Regions from separate parts of the Homo sapiens genome. Here all the other regions are linked to region 1. Evidence: promoter capture Hi-C in human tissues and cell types (Jung and others, 2019). All regions are on one chromosome and are shown on one strand. The core of a region is centred on a gene start or on the middle of the fragment in contact, and the rest is flanking DNA. Distances in the headings are between cores, read along the strand shown.

The links. Contacts are between HindIII fragments. The study calls those that stand out against the background at their distance.
Region 2: a fragment that was not itself captured here is called in contact with the fragment with the promoter of PRKG2 in region 1 in 1 of the 25 tissues and cell types used here (IMR-90 fibroblasts).
Region 3: a fragment that was not itself captured here is called in contact with the fragment with the promoter of PRKG2 in region 1 in 1 of the 25 tissues and cell types used here (H1 embryonic stem cells).

Annotation. Positions count from the first base shown.
Region 1 is chr4:81,213,201-81,216,921 of GRCh38, reverse strand. It overlaps PRKG2 (protein kinase cGMP-dependent 2), which reads left to right and starts at 1,700. Exons shown (of 19, transcript NM_006259.3): 1 at 1,700-1,986. LOC124900726 (a long non-coding RNA gene) reads right to left here and starts at 2,036. Exons shown (of 2, transcript XR_007058162.1): 1 at 1,964-2,036; 2 at 698-1,357. RefSeq lists enhancers at 1,667-2,167, 2,168-2,668. The HindIII fragment of the contact is 9,769 bases long and covers 1-3,721 here.
Region 2 is chr4:81,354,321-81,358,553 of GRCh38, reverse strand. No RefSeq gene overlaps it. Among named protein-coding and RNA genes, the nearest start is that of RASGEF1B, 120 kb to the left of the region's middle. The HindIII fragment of the contact is 4,669 bases long and covers 282-4,233 here.
Region 3 is chr4:81,058,495-81,062,338 of GRCh38, reverse strand. No RefSeq gene overlaps it. Among named protein-coding and RNA genes, the nearest start is that of BMP3, 30 kb to the right of the region's middle. The HindIII fragment of the contact is 3,739 bases long and covers 1-3,417 here.

The DNA.
Region 1 (3,721 bases), core at 451-2,950:
CACACACACACACACACACACACACACACAATGGAATACTACCCAGCCACAAAAACAATGAAATCATATCTTTTGCAGCAACATGGATGGAACTAGAGGCCATTATCCTAAGTGAAATTACTCAGAAACAAAGTCAAAAACTGCAGAATCTCTTATAAGTGGCAGCTAAACAATGGGCAGGCATGAGTATCCAGAATGGAATAACAGACACTGGGGACTCCAATAGGTGGGAGGGTGGGAGGTGGGTGAGGTAGGAATTACAACTTATTAGGTACAGTGCACATTATTAGGGTAATAGGTGCGCTAAAAGCCCAGACCTCACCACTATGTGTTATGTCCGTGTAATGCGACTGCACTTGTACCCCTGAATCTGAAATTTTTTTTTAAAGTGAAGACTTTGAAAATCTGTTTTTCTCCTTTTTGTCATTAAATCGCTAATAAAAATTCAGCCCATCAACTTAAAAGTCCATTATTACAGTGACATACAATTACTTATTTTCTCTTTTCTTGTGGAATTCTTCCTCACTCCTTTCTCCTCTAATTTTTTTTTTTTTGAGGTCTTTATAAAATGTACAGACTCTGGGATAGCTTCATGAAAAGGTACTTTGTGTACTTTCGCGATTTTCCTCCAGTTAGCACAAAAACAAACAGGACTATATTCCTCCTCCTCTGAAACTTAATGGTCTCATTCAACATATTTTACATGGGCCTCATTTTTAATATAAGTTTATGTATGTAACAGTGTATACAAATGTTACATGAGCCCCACTGCCACCATGTGGTTTAAAAACCCAAGAGAGTTGGTTGTAACATTCTCTAGATGCACAGTGAGGAATAGACCCTCACTATACTTTCCATCTCTCAACACAGAAACTGCCCTTGTCCTCCGTGAATTTGCTGGTGAAATTCCTCTGGGGGCAGAAGGAAAGGGAAAAAGCCACATGGAGATCTCACAACTCCAGAGCACAGCAAATAATGCGGTGGGGTGTACATATATATTTAGGAAACCATATTGCACCCTTCAGGAAAAAAAAATGTACTCAAAAGGTGACGAGAGAGCATTATCTTCTTGGGTGATCAAGAAAGCTCCCTTCCCAAAGACCTGCAGATTCGGAAGGTATAATCTCTGTCCCTCGAAACTCGATTCAACCCCTGCCCCCAGCATCACGTGAACTGGCAAACTAGATGTAAGTTATGGCCCCAGAGTCCGGGAGGGGCGCGTCGACGAGCTGCTTCGGGGTCACATGTCTTCGTAGAAAGGCATTGGTGTGACAGAGGAGGGCATGTCCAGGGTACGTGCGCCTGTTTGAGCTCTGGGAGGGAAGGCGAAGTGGAGAGAGCCTGCAGTGAAAACAGACTGGAAGGATGGAGGAAAGGGAGGGGAAGGAAAAAATGAACACCTCCCTGAACTTTCCTCTCCCCTCGTCCCACACACTTGAAATAGAAATAATAACATGAACAAAAATGCTTACAACCACGATGTTATCGCCCTACTTAAGTTGCCTCACTATGGAGGGTATGGGGTATAAAGTGCAGACTGCGGCTGTGTCGGGAGTAAAGGTTCGGGCTAGTGTGCGTGCGGGCGCGGGTGACCCCACCTTTAGGGAAGCCGGCGCCCAACTATCCAGGCAGTAGCCCCGGCTGACCCCCTCCCTCCTCCTTCCCTCCTCTCTTCCCTCCCTCCCTGCGTGTCTCCTCTGCACCGGCCCCCGCCGCGGAGCCAGGCGGCAGCACCGACGCCGCCGCAGCTCCTGCCCGCATCGCGCTAACCCGCGCCCCCGGCTCACACGTAGCCGGAGCGACTGAGCCGGCAGCCCCGGGCCCACGCTGCGCACCGTGTGCACGGCGGGGCTGGCTGAGCTGACCTGCGCTGGGCTCCGGCGCCGCAGGCGGCTGGGGAGGGCGGCGTGGGAGAGGACGCTGAGACGCAGGGGCGGCCGCGCCGAGGTGACAAGCTGCGCACCTGGAAAGTTACCCGGCTGTCTGGTGAGGTTCGTGGGCCGGGGGTCTTGGGCGCCGGGGTGTGAGGGCGCGCGGGGAGGGACGGGGTCGGGGTGCGCGCGTGTGCATGCTGTGAATGCGTTGCGCGATGTGCGCCTCTATTCCACACCCAGCCGGTCTCTTGCTTGTGCTGTTCGAGTGTGGACGTGTGTACGCGTTGCATTCGCTCGGTGTGGCAGCGTTTCGTGAGCTCCTGGAGGCAGGGAAAGGCTACTTGTGTTTAGAGGTTCTGTTGAGGGCGGGAGGGGCTCAGCCCCAGTGGGGAGTCCTCAGGGTTCTCTAGGTTTAGCGAGGAGAAGCGGTGGAGGCTGTTGCTCCGAGCTAGGGGCTTGGCGGTGCTGTCAGGGCTTGCGCTCCCGGCTTTGCTTCGTCGAGCTCTGGGTAGTTGCTAGGGGACAGTCCTCAGGCAAGGACTTTTAGGAGTCCTGGTAAACTTGTGTGGGTGTCCTTTTGTCACTCTGGGCACCGTGAGGCGCTTTCATATTTCTGTATTTCTCGGTGATGAAGAAACAAGAGCAAACAAAGCCCAGAAACCAGCCACTTTGGGGATGAGAAAAAAAGAAATAGGTTCAGTTCTGAGAAGAACTACGGTGCAACTACGAAGCAGCTGAGGCCAGAGCTGACAATAAAAGCAACGCATGCAGAATTAGTAGGTAGGAAGGGTGACGCTGGGACAAATGCCTTGATTTCCTGATCTTCATCTTGTTCCCCAAGTTCCCAGGGGCTTTTTCCTTCTTCTTCTTCTCCTTCTTTTTTTTTTTTTTTTTAAGGAAGAGAGCAACATACACCTGCCCCCACCCCACCACACCCCCATATTTAGAGTTTCTTAGAAATTGTCTCTTTTCTTTGCAAGTTTCTATTTAACTCATGAAGAAGGCGATCATCCCACATAACATACACTAGCTGTTTTCAGTACTCCTGTTTAGTTTTGCACAGGAGGGTATGAGCTAATATGGTAGAGAATTCTCTATGGAGAATTAGAGTGCATCCTCTCCGTTGGAACGCTGTATGACTAAGAATAAACGACCTGAAAAGATGATGCCCAGGGATCTTTCTCTTTTACGTGAAATCCTTAACTCCAGTTCTATGAAGTCATTACAAGTGAGGCTAATGAGAATTCACCTCACAGTGAAGGCATATGTTGCCTGGCTGTTGCCCAAGTCCTGTGATCCCTTATTGTCTTGCTTCCTCTAGGCTATTTTTCCTATGAATTATCTCTTCTTCTCCCATGTTTTCGTTTTTCATATCTCCTGTGCTTCATTATCCTGGAGCTACAGACATTTTCAAATTTTCATTATTTTAAAAATCCCTCACATGAATCATGATATCGTCTTGCAGGCTCTACTCTTAGTGTCAGCTCTTTCCATGGTCCCTTGTAGTTGAGTGTCTATCCCCACTCTTTGACAAATCAGATTCAGCACTTTTCTCTCTGATCTCATTTGCTGTGACAGGCCTGTGGGATGTGAGGTACAGCCTGCTCACCTCTTAAGGATCTTATCTGCATGGCCTTTCTGATGCTTCTCCTAAATCTCTTATTGGTACACGTGTTCCTTCTCCTTTGTGGTTTGCTTCTCCTCCTCTTCTCCCACAAATAATATCCACAGATATTACCTATATGTTCATAGGTAACAATAGAGACATTCCTTTCTTACCTCCCTTAGTGATCTCATCTACAAATGGTACTTCAAGTCTTCTATGGAGCAATCTCTTCCCTTGAGTT
Region 2 (4,233 bases), core at 1,367-3,866, 140 kb before region 1:
CAGTGAATATTTGTTGAATGAACAAATAAATGAATGAATGACCTAACCTATTCATTAAACTGTAGCATGGATAAGAATCACTTTGGGAACTTGTTTTTAAATACAGATGCCCAGACTTCAATGGCAGATATTCTCACTTAGTAGATCTGGGGAGGGGTGGAATATGCTCTGAGAAATATTGCCTAGTCCATGGATAGATTAACCTTGTATGATTGAGTAACTGCTGGTTAATGATTGCTTAAATACACATTTCAAATGCATTTTTTCAGCAATTCTCTTTCGCCTGCATATAAATAAATATCAACAGACGTATTCAGGCACAAACACACACATGCCCTTTAGGAAAGAGTGAAGAGGAAATAAGGCATAGGATTGATAGTTGAATCAATGCTTTGGGACTCATGAATATATAGCTTCATGGAAAATGTCTCTGGGAAACCCTATAACCATTTCTGACTTTTACATGTAGGTGAAAGTTCCTTTCTTTATTATGATTAAATCATATGTTTATATGCTACAAATCAAGATTCCTTAGTTCCCTAGGTCCTTGTCTGTGGCAAAATCCAGGAAGGAGCCATGAATGGGAACTGTGGTGCTTCCATTTAGCAGGTGCTACCTGTTATGAGAATAAATTATAGATTTGATTCTCTAGAGTTTTCAGTGCAATGGATTTTACAAGAACAGAATACAAATTGTAACCCCAGTACTTCCCCATAATGGTCATCCTCATTGCAGGTGAAGAAAATACTTTTAAACTATACACCTGGGGTATGTGAACTCATAGAACTTGATTTAATTAGGAAAGATTTGAATAGACAAGGATAATATTTTTAACAGAAATGAACTCAAATAGCCACAGCTTACTCTATTTCATATATTTCTTTAAAATCTTTTTATTGAAATAAACATATACGTAGAAAAATGCATTTCACATCTTTGTGTTTACTCTCAGTTGCACAACTTCAGTTCTTTTAGAAACATAGAATACTTTAAAATATATTTCTTACTTGTAATGAAGTTTCAATGTGACCATGTAATAAACAGTTATAGAGGTCAGGTTGTATTTTGTAGATCATGCCATTTCCTTTTTTCTTTTTTTTAAATTTTAGATTCAGGGGGTACATGTGCAGGTTTGTTACATGGATGTATTGCATGATGCTGGGGTTTGAGCTTCAATTGAACTCATCATCCAAATACTGAACACAGTACCCAATAGGTATTATAGTTTTCCAACCCATGCCTCCCTCCCTGCTTCTCCTGTTGTGGGGTCCACAGTGTCTATTGTTCCCATCTTTATGTCTGCGCGTACCCAGTGTTTAGCTCCCACTTACAATAAAGAACATGTGGTATTTGGTTTTCCGTTTCTGCATTAATTTGCTTAGGATAATGGCCTTCTGCTGCATCCATGTTGCTGCAAAAAACAGGGGACAGGATTTCATTCTATTTTTACAGCTGCGTAGTATTCCGTCGTGCATAGGTACCACATTTTCTTTATCCAATCCACCGTGGATGGGCACCTGGGTTGATTCCACGTCTTTGCTACTGTGATAGTGCTGCAATAAAATGTGAGAGCAGGTATCTTTTTGGTAGAATGATTTATTTTCCTTTGGGCATATATGCAGTAATGGGATTGCTGAGTCAAATAGTAATTCTATTTTTAGTTCTTTGAGAAATATTCAGACTGTTTTTCCCAGAGGCTGATCTGATTTGCAACCCCCCTAGCAGGATATAAGCATTCTCCGCAACCTCACTAACATCTGTTATTTTGGACTTTTTAATAGCCATTATGACTGGTGTGATATGGTATCTCATTGTGGTTTTGATTTGCATTTCTCTGATGATTAGTGATGTTGAGCATTTTTTCATATATTTATTGGCCACCAGTCATGCCATTTACTGGTATTTTCTAGAAAGGTAGAGCACATTATTTGGCATTTTGCTATCTGATAAAGCTCCGAGAACAATCAGGCAAAATGTAAGTGAAGGAGGTCACAATTTTGAGGGTTCGAAGTGATAAACTTCTCAGGGCGAAAGTCAGGAAGAGCCCACAGGTTTCAAATTTATAAGTGATGAATAGGGCTGCAACAGCTCCTTTACCTCAAAGCTAAGCCTTAGAATGAGATCTATGACTATAAGACAGAAATCCAGGGTGATCCATGCCAAAGTGTTCTTAAATAAAAAGTAGAGACTCAAAGACTCATGGCATATGTAAACTGCAGGATTAATAAACATGTCTTCTCAACAAGAAATAAGTCAGCAAAATTGAAACCTTCTATCATGAAATGCAGCAAGTCACTTGGAGTTGAATAGTTGGCTGTGCCCCCCTCCTTTCCTTTCCTCCCATTCCCTTCCTGCCTTTCTTTCCGTCTTTCTTTCCTTCCTTGTTTTTCTCTCCCCTCTTCTCTCCTGTCTCCTCCACCCTTTCCTTCCCTTTTTTTTCAGCTCAGATTATTAATTTCTATGTGAACAACCTTAAACCACTTATATGGGAGAGACTATAGTCTAGATAAGCAAAGTAAGCCACTATTTAATCCTGAAATCCTATTGGAGAGGTCTTTTTAGAGCCTACATTATTTCTGGCCCCTCAGGGATATGTGTGAGAGTGAGAGAGGTTACAGGAGAGAGGTAACTTGGGAAAAGGATGAGGCCAGGCATTTTTAATCATCTTATGATGTCTACTGAGAGCTGGCTTATTTACCTGTCCTAAGGGTTCCCAAAGTTTTTATTCCTTTTGGCACTGAGCTCTACATACATCCAGAGTAATCGTAGAAGACCTGATTTGATCTAGATTCCAAGGATAGCCTTCAGACATCAACAGGAAATCTACACAAACTCTGTAATGCTTCAGAGCTGGTGCTGGGGCAAAAGACAGGTGTAGGAATCTACACAGGGGAGGACATGAATTCTCAGGTCACTTAACTCTGACTATAAACCCCAGTGGCTCACTGGTATTATCCAAAGCATTGCATTGTTTATTGGCTGTAAGGGGGTGGGACTTGGGACACTTATATATGGCATATTTCGATTTAACCACTTCCCAAACATGTTATGATAAAAATTGTTTTTTTTTTTTCAAAAAAAAAAAAGAGAAAAGATATCTAAGTGTTGTTCATCTCAAAACAGCCATCTCTCTGCCTGGACATAATTTCTGACACTGAAGCTAGACCTATTCCCCATTCACCAACCAAGCATTACCTTACACTGTGTTCTAATCCCCACCAGGACTCCAGCTGGTGCAGCAGAAAGGGATTAGCTTACTGACTAAGGGAAAAAAAAATAACCTTCTGTGGGACATAAAGCCATAGGTTTCAAACCTAGAGGATTCTTATATAATGCTGAGTGATTTGTGGATACGAAGGGGAAATTTTAAAATGTATTCCATCTTTAGTGCTCCTCATAACTGTTATGAATGAAAAAAATTCAGGCGCCCAGTGAAATGTTTTAAAATGTTCTCACTGGTTTCTTTGCTTTGATTACTTAATGGAAGTACTCATGCAACAGAATAAAAACACATAATAATGCAAGACATAATTATGACTTATAATTGCAATTATGAATCACTATTATGCATACATTTATGTGTCCCATATGCAGCTAATGGCTCTCTTTCAATGATACCCAGATACTTTTCTGCTGAATTAACACAAAGACATCTTGTATTTTTGTGGCTGAATTTCTTTTTAAAGTGTATTAACCCAATGGATTCTTTTAAAAATGTACATTAATTCACAGTTGTTAGGTGAGTTCCTAAAGGTCAGCTGCAGACTGATGATTTTATGACTATTCACAACCTGTGCTATTCCTCCTCATGATTCCTCAGATGAGTCTATGTCTTTAGGAACAAGTGGAGCTAGAAATAGTCTGGACACTAAAATGAATGTGGTACATTTAAGTGTCTATGTCATGTGTGTCCTTTTAAAACTGATAACATCTCTGAAGTTGCTAAATATATTTTTTGATTATTCACAATCTGAATCCAACAAGTATAAAAAGTTAAATATTATAAATTCAATAATTAAATGAAGCTTTTTATCAAACTGTTTTCTATCTCTTTAAGTGGGCCTAGCCTAGTAAGAGAAATTTTACAAAATTTTCAAATGTGTCAAATGCTAACCTTTGATTCTTGGCCCCAAGAATAGCTTTACCAATGTGTTTGCTCTGCATATTAGGACGGATTAGATAGCTTTGCATATGTTAAGTAAAAACACAGGGAAGTTAGGGGAATATTGGTAA
Region 3 (3,844 bases), core at 299-2,798, 150 kb after region 1:
ATGAGATAATTTAGTGAAATCACATATTCTAGGCCCATTTTAAAAAACCCACTTATGTTCATGTGTGTATATGTCAGTGTTTATAGTGATGGAAAATCTCCAGAAAACAGGGCTGAAGTCCTGTAAACACCAAATGTTTTCCTTAAGTGAGTTCGTTTTGGGGAATGCTCTTTCACATGATTCTTGCACATAATTGCCTCACCTCTGGACTGCTGCATTCACATCTGGCCTGAGCCCCCATGAAGTGGGGGTTGGTTTTCATTGCAACTTGGTGGTAGTTTGCCTATGTGCTGAATCTGAAAAGGTTCAGCATAATATTTTGAGCAAAGGGTTGGATCATGACCATATTTCTCTCCCTGCTTCTGTGATGTTCTAGTAGAGCTAGGCATTTCTCTCTCGGTTTCTTTCCCTTTCTTCCTCCCTCCTTCCCCCATCCCCAGTTCCCAGTTGTGAGCAGGTTGGAATGAAGGGAACATGAGGAAGAAACACCTGCTACCCGCTGATTTAACTTTTTCTAGGACATGTGTGTGTATGTGTGTGTGTATGCGGTGTGTGTGTCTGAGTATAGGGCTGGGATCAAGGGAATAAGGGGAAGAAAACACCTGCTACTCTCTGATTTAACATTTTCTGGGATTGGATTTTTTTTATTGCCCTCAAGGCAGTATTTTGATGAAACAAAAAGAAATGAGGAATAAACTCAAATCAAGTTGCCACCAACTAAAATTGAGCAGGCAGGGTAAAAATAATGCTTCTCAGGTATTCTGACCTTGTTAATTATCAACAGAGTAGCCTCCAACTGTCTTGCAAAATAGAGTTCTCTTTCTCTATGGGAGGTATCTCAAATACTCAGACAACTATGGCCTTGGACTTGAAGCAAACCAAAGATGGATTTTCTTTCCACATCCTCTGATGGACCTAGAGAAAATAGGCATGGTACACAAGGCAGGGAAATTCATACCAAAAAATGAAAATAAAACAAATCCCAACTACCTAAAATGATTACTGTATATAGTGTTTGCTTAAGTTTCATAACTTATGTTTATTTTAATTTTAAAAAGATAAGAGACAGTTCATATCACAAGATATGTTAGGCAAGTCACTTTTACCCCATTTCTCATTTTCCTCTAAAGGGCGCTCAACTTCCACCCCACTGGCTAAGAGAAAACAGTGCTGGGAGATACTTCTTGTTTTTTTCTTCCTCCTCTCATGGCTCTTCCCCATGGGAGAAGGAGCAATGATCCTACCGATGACAGGGTAAAAGCTGGTGGTTTGACCATTGGTTCATATTTTTAGTGGGGCCATGTTAAGATTTAAAGTTTAAGTCACCTGTGCTGTTGTTCTTTTGGCGTGTAGGGAAGGCCAGAATTTCCTGTTTAGTGGCATTGTGGAGATGAAGGGGAGGCTCTTATTAGTATACTACCTCTATTCTCCTTAGACAGGAACAGGAATTCCTTTGTACTCTCTGGGTGGAAACGGTGTTGAAGTAATATTTTCTGCTCTTGTCCCTATCCTTTCTCTTTAAGGGGAGAGACATATCTGATTGACGATGAGAAGAAATGGGAACTGAGAGTACACAGTTCAGCCTCACTTTGACTTTCCCTTTTTCAGAATTTATTTACTCAAAATGCACATTTTTCCATTTTCCAAAAATTCAACTCACTGAGACCATCTCTGTACCACCCGGGTTGACCTGAAATTGGGTGGGGAAGTTCAACTCAGGGGAAAGTTCTCAGATCCCAACACTAATCAAACATTACCCCATTATTAAAACTTTTTTTTGCTTTCTTTATGATGCGATAGTCTATTTTCCTCAAATTTCTCAGGACTCCAAGGAAAGATGGGTGAAATTACTCTGGCAGCTTTCTTTAAGTAGAGGCAACTGAGGTGAAGTGCAAAAGAATAGGACAATTGGGGTGAGATTATCGCTGCTGGAATCCCAGCCCTGATGCTACTAGCATGGTTCTGACCTAAGGTGTGTCAGTTATTCTCCTGGGTCAGTAAAGTGAGGATAATACGCACCAATACTTCTCAGGGTCAAATGAGGACTCATTCATGGAAGTGTATAAAATGCATTTAAAAAAATCAAAAAGCAAATTTCGAAGAATATTTACTTTGTGCTATGAACATTTATAAGTGTTTCATGTATAAAGGCTCAAGTAATTTTCACAGCCCTGTAAGGCAGGCTCTGTGTTTTGTTCTCATTTTACACATGAGGACATGGAAACAGAAAGAAGCTTAATAACTTGTCCAAGGTCCTACAGTAAGTGACAGAGTTGAGATTCTAACGTAAATTGTCTGCCTGTAAGCCTGTATCTATGAAATACAATATGCATAAAAATAAACTTTCATATACCAGAAATACACATATATAATATTTTAGTCTATTTTCTACAATTCATTTGGCTTTGTTTTTCGTTAAGGTATTAGATGCCTTAGTTATTTGTTAAAATATAGTAAGACAAATAATATCACCTACTTTTTATTATTAAAGTAAGAGGAAGAATGCTGTAAATAAAATGTAGGTATGAAAAGTAGAAGAGTCTCACAAACCCCATCACATGATAGAAGTGAGATAGAATCAACAATCTCCTAAGTTGAGGGACGGATGATCTATTACCCTGGTCCTTTCTTGTGTTCTCTCTTTCCCTTCCATCGTGACTTTTGTTGTTGCTTTTTTTCCCAAGACATGATCAGGAGAAAAATATTTATAAGTTGTGATTTAATATGGATGTTTGACTCATGGATTCTGGTATACTAGAGCAAAAAGGAATTTTTAACCACCACCTGGAGAAAATTAGGACATGTAAGAGGTGAAGGAACTTAGGAAAGTGCTCAAGCCCAGAGCTTAGCATTGCCATAGATTCTGATGTTGCTTCAAATGCAATTGAAAAAAACAAATATAACCCAAATTAAAATTTAAATATCATATTGTGAGAACATCCACTTTTTGTGAACAAAAGAGTATGAAGGGAAGGCTCACGGGGTTCTCACATTTTGTATGTTGTGGATGTAAATATATATAACTCTGTAACATTGTGCTTTTCCTATGTGAATATATTTTCATTTTACTGGTTGATATTCACTTGTTAATAGTTACATATAGCTAACTTCCAGTTCTGAGACTGCAGACAATGTAGGCATTAATGCTTTATATCATCAAGCACATCTCTACCCACTAAAATAGAGTTTTGTATGATGTGAGCAATCCTTGGTAATACTAAGTGGATGTGTGCTCAACGTTCTTATTCTTAACCTTAATTCCCACCATACCTTCTAATAGCTACAAAGATCAATTCTAAGTGGTATTTCAAGACAATCCTCTGGCATGAGAACTGAGGCAACTCTTTTGAAAGTATTCATTAGTCACAAAACTGGCTACCCTGAAAGTATGATGATTCCATCAATATTCCTCAAAGGCATACATCACTCTGCTACTAACTGAAAGAACCAGAATTCAAACTCAAGGTGGTATTATCTCAAGGAAGATGCTCTCTCCATAATGTTACAAAGAATTCTAATACCAGTTTTTCCAGTTGCTAGTCTTATGCAATTGGGCATACTTACTCCAGTATATCATAGTCAATACTGTTTGGTTGCAAGTTACAGATATTGGCTTAAACCAGCATAAGTACAAGTGAGTAATTGTTGAGTTTTCAGGGATAGCCAGTGCAAACCAAGGACACAAAGTTCGATTTATGAGAAAAAGATACAGGAACTAAAATATCATCAGGAAACAGAGCAGCCACTCTTTTTACTATGCAAGGCCCAATGCTCTATCCCTGGCCAATTTATTCTTCTCTCTTCACAACTAGCTTTTACAACGTTTCCACATGCCTGCTAAAAA